2 separate regions of the Homo sapiens genome follow, and region 1 is linked to region 2. The links are contacts of gene promoters, found by promoter capture Hi-C in human tissues and cell types (Jung and others, 2019). All regions are on one chromosome and are shown on one strand. Each heading gives the region's core, a stretch centred on a gene start or on the middle of the fragment in contact. The rest is flanking DNA. Distances are from core to core; before and after follow the strand shown. Region 1 overlaps LINC00485 (long intergenic non-protein coding RNA 485). Region 2 holds the start of ARL1 (ARF like GTPase 1).

Region 1 (5,827 bases), core at 1,220-3,719, 1.4 Mb after region 2:
AAGATTGGATGTGTAGGTGATTGTGGTCTTCATGATCTCCACTGTTAAAGCTTCCTTCTTCACCATGAGTAGTAGCCTCTCTGAAGCGCTGTTGTTCCAGCAGAACAGGGATTCTCCCCCCATCCCCACATGTGCAGTGAGGTCAGCTAATTTTCCTGTATCTCTGGCCTCAGGTACCTTAGCAGGCTCCCCTCTATCCTCTCCTCAGTAGGTTCTCTTACTAGATCCCCCAGTAGGCTGAATGGCCATCTGTGGTGTCCTTGGGTGATTTTGACGTGTCTGGTGTTTCCATGAAACTTTGTTTATTCCCCAGCTCTGTGCAACTTGGGCAAACGCTTCTAGAAAGACCCAATAATACTTAACAATACCACACTTAACATGTCCATGCCATTGGAAGGTCTACAAATTACAATTTTATATCGAATTTTTATAATTATCATGGATTTGTGAGGTGAACACCCTAAATTTAAAGGTGAGAAAACTGAGGCCCAGGAAGGTAAAAATCAGACGCCCAATACTACATCATCCTCAGATGGCTGAGTATGAGTTTGAATGCCTCAACTAGAAATAGTATAGATTTAAATTTAAGCCCAGCTTTGTTCAGCAACTTACCAGGGAGACTACAAAAAAAGTAACTTAATGTCTCTGAATTTTAGTAGACTCAGTAAAATGCAACCATTAAAACCATTTAATGTCAGAAGGAAATTAATATATTTATAGCGTTAACACTCCCCAGTACATTATTTTTCCTGCCATGAAGCAGTATTATTATTACCCCCATCTAAAGATGAGAAAACTGAGGCATAACATAGCAGAACAGCATAGTCCTCAAGAGTCTGGGCTTTGGGCCAAGTGTGGTGGCTCACGCCTGTAATCCCAGCACTTGGGGAGGCAAAGGTAGGAGGATTGCTTGAGGTCAGGAGTTCAAGACCAGCCTGGCCAACATAGTGAAATCCTGTCTTTACTAAAAATACAAAAAAAAAAAAAAAATTAGCTGGGTGTGGTGGCATGCATCTGTAATCTCAGCTACTCAGGAGGCTGAGGCAGGAGCATTACTTGAACCCAGGAGGCGGAGGTTGCAGTGAGCTGAGATCGTGCCATTGCACTGTGCCAGCCTGGGTGACAGAGAAAGACTCCGCTAAAAAAAAAAAAAAAAAAAAAAAAAAAAAAAAAAAAAGAAGAAGAATGTAGGCTTTGGAGTCAAGTTGCTTGAGCCAGGTCCTGGCTCTATCATTAACTAGCTAAGTAACTTTGGGCTAGTTACTTAATACCTGCCTGGCACAAGGTAAAAGTTAATATAATATATGTCAACCACTGTTGGGCAACTTTTCCAAGACCACAAACAAACCATGATAGTGCCGAGGTTCAAAGCTAATTAGCCAATTTGGTTTCAGAGATTCTGATGTGTACCATAACGCTGTTATCTTTGGAGCCAGAAAGTCAGGAGATAGGAAGATAAATATGAGAAAGAAAGAAGAGCTGGAGGTTTGAGACTGATAAAAAGTACAGGAAAAGAGAGAAGAGCAATTTGTGGCGCATCAGGGCATTTTACTGTATGGCAAGAAATGGAATTTCCCATAAGTTGCCCTTTCCAAAGATTCCACTAAAGAATTATATTGCTTGACAATGTTTTTTGTTGTTGTTTTTTTGTTTTTGTCATGATGACATTTCTTTAGAAAGAAGTACTATTTCTAAAATAGGACATAAGGTAGCCCAGCTTTATTTGGGTTAAAAGTTCTAAAAGAATTTCAGTAGTTCACTCTGGATAGAGCCTCCAATGTGGGGTCTTGGAAAGAAGGGGCAGAAATTCCTAGGGCAAGCACCACTGTGTGTTTCCTAGGCAGTGATATGGTCTACATGCTGTGGATCCTTATTCTATCCTAGGAACTGACCAACCAACTGATCAAGATATCAACCCGCTAAGGGTGGCCAGACAGAAGCATGCTGCCCCCATGTCTGTTTCTATCTATCCTCACCTCAGTGCCCATACTAATTAGAACTCCTTTTCTCTCCAGGAAACTTTATCCAAGAAGCCCCACTTCCCCTTCCAAAGCAGTTTGGTTCCTGGAAATATTCTTGGCCTGGAAAAGAGAAATGGTTTCCTATTTTCAGCTGGTGTTAGGTATTATTTGTGGCCACCTGCTAGATCTCAATAAACAGATTCTGCATGAAATTATAGCCTTTTTGTGTTCCAAAAACTAACTCTCCTCTTAGCCTGTAGTACGTACAATAACAAACCCAATATCAACAATCATATCTATCATGCAGTAAGCAATCACCACGTTTGCTTGTTGAAATGAATCCTGTGTTTTTGAGAAGGTCACCTCACCTGACCTCAGCTGGGGAATTTCTGTGCTGCAGAATGTCTGTGGTCTCTTTTCAGCTTTGAGATGTATAAATCTGGTATGTACCATGAGGTCCCTTATGGTTCCTCAGTAAGATTCTATTGCTGTTTATTATTATTATCAATAGGAATAACAAGGGTTAACATTTCCTGGACACTAACTATATGCCTTTGTATTAAGTACTTACTATATATAGTATATATAATCCTTACCAAAAAGAATGTGAAGTATGTATTATTTTCATTATCCCCAATTCATAAACAGGGAGACCAAAGTTGATGTAGGTTAAATAAATTCCCCAAGGTTACCCAGCTAGGAGTGGAGGAGGCAAGATATAAACCCAGCCCAGACTATTCACTCCAGACTACTCACTCTACTGTGTGGAATTACTCTCTCCAAGTTACACATGAACAAGAGAGTTCAATTTACCTTTGTCTATATATTTGGGGCTAGAGTTTTTATAGTACAACATATTGATTGGCCTAAATTTCTAGCCATATTCTTAGGAAAGATAGGGATCTGCCTGTCAGCTTCTTGCGTGATAGTGGCAATGATGGCATTTATTTTCAGTGCAGATAAAAAGCCTGCCTAGAATCTTCTTTTTGGAAGGTTGAAGAGTATAACCAATAAGTTGTGAGGTGGAATTAAGATAAACAAGTGCATTTTACTTACAGGGTGAAAGTGGTCCATACCAGATTCATGATTGGTTACCAGGTGATTGCAGTTGTCAAGATCTTGTGTTTTTCCTCGGAAACAAGGAAACTGTAAGAAGGAGAAATGAAGATATCCGAGCTAAGAGAGAAAAAAAGAGACATTAGCATTAATCATTTATAGGATAAGGGCTAATAGATGAGACTCTTGGGGAAAAAACAACGCAGAAGCTTGGGTGAGAAACACACACCATCATCATCATCATCATCATCATCATCGTCTTCATCATTGTCGTCATTATCATCATATGCACATATGTCCTAGTTTGGGTCTTTTAGAAGCAGACTCTGAGAAAAGGATCCTGGTGGAAATAGTATAGTTGGAAACTAAAAATAGAAAAATGGGAAACAGAGACAGGTAAAGAAAGGCAATAATTACATGGAGTGTTATCAGGCAGGCAGCTATTATTGTGGGCAACTGAGCTTACTGCCTCTGATAAAACTTTGAGAGTCAGTGAGGAAGAAAGCCTCTACCAGCTCTTACTGGTCATTGGTAGAGGAATAATGTGATGCAAAGGTATTAATTCCTAGGAACTTTTGGTCTACCATAAAGGCAAAGTGCCTTAGAATCTGAATAAAACTTTTAAAAAGAGAAACTTAGGAGCTGGCAGTTGGCAGCCAGCCATTCTGCACTGAAAAGGAAAGGGCAGAAGGGTGGGGGGAGGGTCACTGAGAGCATCTGAAGCAATTTTGCTTTTAGAGGGTAAGAGACAGATGGTAGCTAACATGTACTGAATGCTTAGAATTCGTTTAATTTTCACAGTCTGCATAGAAAGTGTGTATTATTGTTGGCATTTTGTAGTTAACAAGAAGTACAGAGAGGTAACATATTTGTTCATGTGGGAATAGCTGGTAAGCGGCACAGCTGGGAGTTGAATCCAGGGGTCCTGACTCAAACCCTCCACGTTATTCCATCTAACTATGCAGACTGTAGCGTCAGGTTCCTTAACCTATAATCTCCAGCTCCATCCCTCTTGTTCATTATGGATATTTTTATCCAAAAAGGACCAATTTGCTTTCAACAGGTTTCCACTCTCCTTGATTTGCATTTTTTCCACGTAGGATTAGTGATAATAACTACTACAGTTAGCATTCTGCTAAGCTCCTTACAGGCTTGTCTTCCTTAACACTCCCATCAAACCTATAAGGTGGATACTGTTATGTTCTCACCTTACCAGTGAGGAAACCAAAGCACAAGATGATGAATAACTTGCTTAAGGTCATGTATTGAGTGAATGGCAAAACCATGTTCAGCCCTTGTTTAACTATGATGTTCTGCTGTCTCCTTAGTTAGAAAGGCTTGAAATAGCAAAGTTGTGTGTAGACTGTGGCACATGCCAATTCCAGGAACTGCCTTTAAAGTGGAACAGGTTTGTAATCATAGCCAATCCAGGGAAATGGCAGAACTTTATCTCCATCCTCAGTTTAGATTCAGAGCCTCTGCATAGAGAAATACAATGATTTACCTCTTTCTTTTGGGTGAGCATGCCCACATCTGAGCTCTTGTTTTAAGGCATCAATAAACATGGTGACAATGGACTTAGAAGTGTTACATTTCATGTAAATTTTCACCTGAGACAAAGCATCCGTGGTCTTGGCAGGTCTGAATTCTAAATGACGAATCTTTGCTTCAAGGGATTGAAAGGGAGAGATGGATCAGTAATTGAAATCTTCACGTACTTGCTTTTTATCCTCAAATTTCAGTAATATTTTATGACATAAAATAGTAAAATAAAAATAAAAACAGCAAGAGTAACAAGTTCAAATTACCTTTAATCACATTATCTTTCTTCTTTTTAAAACAGCATGTGGGATAAAGAGCAAGAGCAGTCTTTGACCATCATTTCAGACCCAGTAGTAACCACTGGCAACATTCCCACTTGCTAGTTTCTGTTATCCTCTGTGATCATGCAAACATACATATATCCATGTATATACATATACATCATTAATAGCGTTTTTCAAAAAATGGAAATGTGGTCATGCTTTTTGTTTGCTTAAAAATACCTCATAGACTTCCCTAGGTCATTATTTATAGATTTACTTCATTTTATTTTGAACTCTTGAACAATGTTCTGTTACATAGATAATAATTTATCTGAGCAATCTTACTAGTGGGCACTTGGCTTGTATTGCGACATTTGCTGCAGAGATCATGTTGGTGTATTCTTTTATACTCCCCAAATGGTGTCTTTTTAGAGCATGCAGCACTTGCCTGAAGATATCAGGTGGTTGTTTTTTTCTGTCTTCAACTAAGTAGGTAAAGCCTAACTGAATATTTAGTTTTCAGATTTCCAGACACCCTTTTACAAACACTTCCTGCTTCTGATTCTAGTTCGGATACCCATAACCAACAGCAGTAATTTATATTCTAAATCCTTAAAGACAACAGCATGTCTGCATTCCCATTCTAATGCCCAACCAAGAAGAAAACTTGGTGGCCACCTTCCACCTTCCTCTATCTTCTCCCCACTGCCTAGTCCAGCCTCCCACTCTCTCTACGACGAGCCCTGAGTCCTTTGGGGGTTAACAGAGACCGAACACTTGGAAGCCATTGATCAAATGAATTAAAATATGCTTCCCAGAATTCCTCACTCATCCCCCCACACCCCTCCTCACACATACACAAAGAAAGGTCCAACTCTTTGAACAAAGGTTGCACTTGCAAAAAACTTCTTCAGTCTTGGAGAAACAGACTTTTTCATTGAGCTCTCCCCTGCACTTAAAACAGAAGCCAGTAGAAAAGACCAACCTGAAGCAGAAGGATCTCAC
Region 2 (5,808 bases), core at 23-2,522:
AAAAATAATAAAGCTCTATCCAATGCATCACAAAATATTCCCAGAAAGCTTCCTGTACACCAAGTATTGTGTAGGATAAAAAGCACAGTCCTTTTCCCATCCAGAGCCATTAGAGAAGATTAAAAACAAGTTACATTAATACAAAAAAAAATAGTTAACATCAGAAGTGATGCCACACTGTTATTTGGCAAAGACATGGCATAACTAAGAGCTGCGAGTTGAAAAATGAACAACACCATGGGCTAGAGAACCTTGGGAAAGTTCAACAGAATAGGTGTGACTTGACAAAGTCCTTTCTACCATTTACAGGTAGAAGAGAGGCGGAACAAAACTGAAGGCGGTTATGGAAGACAGGACAGCGCCTGTGATGCTTGGGAGCAAGAAGTATGCTCCCCAGAAAACTGTGGAGGGATTTAACCAAGCCAAAGAATCTGCACCTTCATTTGGAGGGTGAGAAACGAGTTAAAGAATGTGCACCCTCACTTGGGTTCTAGCGGGGCGAGGGTGTTACCTGATGCTTGTGAGAATGCAGTTCCCTCAATCAGCGGGCCAAGAACCAAGAATAAAGTTTCATTTGCCGACTAGAAATACCCGTATTATTACATGAAACGCTACAGCAGATTAGCAGACAAATGCCAAACTGGCCATAAAACAACATAAGCAACACCTGCTCTCAGGTTTTTCAAACTGACGCCGTCCCAGCGCCCCTGGTAAAGAGAATGATTAAGCTTCCACTCTGGGGCCGCAGCTCATCTTTCACCAAGAAACCTCGGCGAACCTGCGACTGACGCGTTGCCAGCCTCCGCAAGAACAACTCTGCCCAGCAAGTGGAGCTGGGGATGAGGGAAAACTTCATGATAAGGGTAAAGAACTCGAACCCAGGCTCTGCGGACGTCCCCAAGCTGTCCGGGTCCCTGGACCCCGCAGGAATCAAGGGGAACCGAGAGAGGACGGAGGAGAACGCGAGAGGCCGGATCCACCCCTACAGATGAAGATCCAAAGTGAGTCAAGTCCTCCGCGACCCGCCCCCTGAGGAGCTGGCTACTCTAGGGTATCCTGGCCGGCCCCTCTCCTCCTCTGCACCCCAGCCCTCGGCCGCGGCTCCCTCGAGCGCGCCCAGGTGCCCTTCTCGAACCCCTCACCCATGATGAACCCCCTGTCCTCCCTCGCCGATCTTCAGTGATTCCTTGGCCTTCGGCTGCAGCTCCGAGGCGGTTTCCTCGCAAGCCCAGTCAGCCAGCAACTTCCACGTCGGACTCCAGGCGGGGGCGGGAGCGAGGGTCAGCTGCGACTGCGCGCCGGGAACGGTGGCCTGAGCATCCGCGTCGTCGCTTTCGACTCACGGTCCCCGCTCACTGGATGTAGATACCGTGGAGGCCAGAAGAGACGAATAATTCAAAAACCTGAAGTCTCTCCTGCTTGTGTTTTTCTGGACAGAAAGAGCTTCTGAAATAGAGAAATTGGAATTTTTGTTTTAAATTCTGACACCAAAAAGTGGCGAATCTGACAACTGAAAATGCGAGTCGGGCCTCGATGAGTCGTCCCGGTCGAACGCTGGCGCAGGCTGCGGCGTTGCAGAGGACGCGTGTCCCGGAGCGCCCTGCGGGGCCAGCCCAACTCTCCCTAGGTGCTTTCTCCCAGAAAGAAACAAGACTACGTAATAATAATAGGAATGGTACCGCGCTGCCAATGCGGAGCAGCCTTGCACCTGAGGCCAGTAACCAGAGGTTTTTGTCTTCGCTGTGGCCTGCAGGACGAGGACCTCGCCGGCTTTTTTTCTCGCTGACCGAGCAGCTGAGACCGCCTTTCAGGGGTCGGCAGTGTGGACTGGCTGGTCCCGATCGTGGGGACCAGGGACTTATTCCCTCGAGGGTCGACTGTTGGAAGTAATGTAGGTTTTGATAGTGAAGTGTGTGGAGAGGAAGAAGGAAGCACACCTATAGGATGTGGAGAAGGGATTTCCCCTAGAGAAATTTTTAAAGGTTGAGCATGTATGTTTTGAAACTTCCCAAAGATCCATTGAAAAGTGAACCTTCCGGCCGGGCGCGGTGGCTCACGCCTGTAATCCCAGCACTTTGGGAGGCCGAGGCGGGCGGATCACGAGGTCAGGAGATCGAGACCATCGTGGCTAACACGGTGAAACCCCGTCTCTACTAAAAATACAGAAAATTCACCAGGCGTGGTGGCGGGCGCCTGTAGTCCCAGCTACTCAGGAGGCTGAGGCAGGAGAATCACTTGAACTCAGGAGGCAGAAGTTGCAGTGAGTCGAGATCGTGCCACTGCACTCCAGCCTGGGCGACAGAGCGACACTCCGTCTCAAAAAAAAAAAGAGAAAAGTAAACCTTCCATCCCTAATACCCTGTATCTCGGTGATCCCCAGTAGTCACTACTGTTAATACTCTCTTAGGTTTTCTTCCAAATCTTATTAATACCTTTGCATATTATGTTTTTATTTATGGTAGAGATTTTCATCCATTCAACAGAAGCTTATGGACTGCCTTTTTAGTTTATTTTAAAAGAATTTTTCTAGCTTTAAATAAAAATTGTATATATTTACAGTGTACCATGTGATGTTTTCATAGTTGTATATGTTGTGAAATGATAACATACCCATCACCTCACATAGTCGTGTGTGCTTGTGTGTATATGTTTATTTTGTGCTAAGAATATTTAAGGTCGGCCAGGTGTCGTGGCTCAGGCCTGTAATCCCAGCTCTTTGGGAGGCCGAGGCGGGCAGATCCCTTGAGCCCAGGAGTTGGAGTCCAGCCTAGGCAACATAGTGAGACCCCATCTCTACAAAAAAATAAAAAAATTAGCCAGGCACAGTGGCACTTGTAGTCCCAGCTACTTGAGAGGCTGAGATGGGAGGATCACTTGAGCCTGGGAGGCAGAGGTTGCAGTGAGCCAAGATCCCGCCATTATTCTGCTCTCATTCTATGAGTTCCACTTTTTTTGACTCTACATATAAGTGGGATCATGAAGTATTTGTGTTTCTGTGCCTAGCTTATTTCCCTTAGCATAAATTCACCCATGTTGTCACAAATGACAGGATTTTCTTCTTTTTAAAGGCTGCATAGTATTCATTATATATATAAATATACATACATATACCACATTTTTACATTTCACGTTTTCTTTATCCATCAGTTCACTCTTAGGTGATTCCATACTTTGGCTATTATGAATAATGCTGCAATGAGCATGGTGATGCAGATATCTCTTTGACATACTGATTTCATTTTCTTTGGATATATACCCAGAATATATGGTATATACGTATATATTGTATATATGGTACATATGCATATATGATATATATGGTATATACTATATGGTTTATACTGTAGTTCTATTTTTAATTTTTTGAGGAGCCTCCATACTGCCTTCCATAGTGGCTATACCAATTTACATGCTCACCAACCATGCCTATCTTGGTTTTGATTTGTTTGCAGACTCCACTAGTTGTCTAGGTTCTGAACTAGTTTTTGCCTCTTGCTCTCATCCTTGCCCCCAAAACCACAGGTTCACGGAAATTTTCCTGCAAGGAAAAGTTTTGTTTTGTTTATTTTTATTTTTGTTAATGGTTTGAGAAGGGGAGAAGGGCTCTACCTAAACACCTGAACCTTTCTAAGGCTATCCTTTGTAAGCACTGTGTGGTCTAATTATTGGACCTCTGTGCTTATGATTCTATAATACCTCCTCTTAAACAAGATTAGTTTGCTGCTGCTTGAAAGATCTTGGCCATTACTACTTCAAACTTAGGTCAATGTCAGATTTATATTTGAGTATGATGTGTGTAATTCTTGAAAATACAGATTCCCTTTAAAAGAGAACTGAGGCGGGGCACGGTGACTCATGCCTGTAATCCCAGCCCTCTGGGAGGCCGAGGTGGGTGGATCACCTGAGGTCAGGAGTTCAAGACCAGCTCGGCCAACATGGTGAAACCCTGTCTCTACTAAAAATGCAAAAATTAGCCGGGTGTGGTGGCAGGTGCCTGTAATGCCAGCTGCTCGGGAGGCTGAGGCAGGAGAATCTCTTGAACCCGGGAGGCGAAGGTTGCAGTGAGCTGAGATCGCACCACTGCACTCCAGCCTGGGCGACAGAGCAAGACTCCATCTCAAAAAAATAAATAAAATAGAACTGAAAGGAAAAATGTGCTGTAATATAATTGTGTATTCAAACTACATATTCTGAACCAGATAAATGAGATATATATCGCGATGCTTTGTAAACTGAAATACTATATACAAATTTAAATGTATTGACAGCCTTTCAGAATCTATATTAAGCACCTAGTTACAAGTCACTGTGGAAATAACAGTGTAATAAAGACTAAAAAAGACCCATTAGGCATTTTGATCAAAAATTCTCATTTTTCAAAATTTGATCATATAATGCTTTGCTTTGTTAGTAAAGAACTGACCTAATTCCCTACAGGCATTGAAAACAAAACAAAGGCCAGAGCAATGGCTCATGCCTGTAATCCTAGCACTTTGGATTGAGGCGGAAGGATAGATTGAGGTCAGCAGTTCAAGACCAGCTGGGCAATATAATGAGACCCCGTATCTAAAAAAGAAAATTATTTTTGTAATTAGCCAGGCCTGGTGACACACACCTGTGGTCCCGGCTACTTCGGAGGCTGAGGCAGAAGGATTGCTTGAGCCCAGAAGTTTGAGGCTGCTGTGAGCTATGATCAAGCCACTACGATCTAGCTAGGGCAACAGAGCAAGACCTTTTTGCTAATAAATGGATAAATAAAGTGTTGAGACATTGAATAAAGAGATTTAATGAGCCAACGCACATGAAATAGAATAGTTATCAACACATAATACTCAAGGTTTTTTAAAAAAGTATTGAGAGCTTGTTTCAGCAGCACATACACTAAAATTGAAGAATACAAGGAAGATTAGCATGGCCTCTGCACAACAATGACATGCAAATTGAAGTGTTCCATATTTTAAAAAATTTTAAAAAAGAATAAAAGTGTTGAGACAAATTTATAATTAACAAAGTCATAAATAGCCAAGAGAAACTTAGCTAATCTTTATTGGTGATTACATCCCACCTCCACCACTGCTTCTCTCAGTTTATGACCACAGCAAGGTTCCTACTTTTATAGGAACGCAAATGCATAAAGGTCATGATAAGGTGTTGAAAAATAAAATAACAAAACTGCCATTTCCTGTATATTTTATGATTCTAACTAATGACAGCCATTACTCTGTAGGAAAGATACATATCTTTAGGGCAATGTTGCTTTTCAAAATGTAGTCATTCCTATTAATATTGACCTAGTATTATAGTTTCCTACTTATTAAAATGAAGTCTTTGAGGAAGTAGAATTATAGCATCATGCTAGAATTAAAACTAAATGTTTGGTTTTCATTTATTTATGTATTTATTTATTTGAGACAGGGTCTCACTTTGTCACCTAGGCTGGAGTACAGTAGTGTCATCATGGCTCATGTCAGCCTAGACCTCCAGGGCTCAAGCGATTCTCCCAGCTCAGCCTCACAAGTAACTGGGACTACAGGCGTGAAAAGCAAATTTAAAAATTTTTAATTTGTTCATAGAAATGGGGTCCCATTCTGTTGCCCAGGCTGAGCTTGACTTCTTAGACTCAAGTGATCCTCCTGCCTCAGCCTCCCAAAGTGTTAGGATTACAGGTATGAGCCACTGCACCTGGTCAAAACTAAATGTTTAGATTGTAAGTCTTTGGAATTTTTTTCTTTAAAGTCTTTAGAATTTTTTTCTTTAGACAACCATGTAGAATTGATCTCACCTCAAATGTCATCCTATTTAAAAATT

What was found. Contacts are between HindIII fragments. The study calls those that stand out against the background at their distance.
Region 1: a fragment that was not itself captured here is called in contact with the fragment with the promoter of ARL1 in region 2 in 1 of the 25 tissues and cell types used here (lymphoblastoid cells).

Annotation. Positions count from the first base shown.
Region 1 is chr12:102,818,081-102,823,907 of GRCh38, forward strand. LINC00485 (long intergenic non-protein coding RNA 485) reads right to left here. Exons shown (of 5, transcript NR_033855.1): 2 at 4,628-4,683; 3 at 3,018-3,137. Among named protein-coding and RNA genes, the nearest start is that of LINC00485, 3.4 kb to the right of the region's middle. The HindIII fragment of the contact is 6,778 bases long and covers 1-5,827 here.
Region 2 is chr12:101,406,500-101,412,307 of GRCh38, forward strand. It overlaps ARL1 (ARF like GTPase 1), which reads right to left and starts at 1,273. Exons shown (of 6, transcript NM_001177.6): 1 at 1,143-1,273. The coding sequence starts at 1,146. It also overlaps the pseudogene RNU6-1068P. RefSeq lists enhancers at 756-805, 886-935. The HindIII fragment of the contact is 11,101 bases long and covers 389-5,808 here.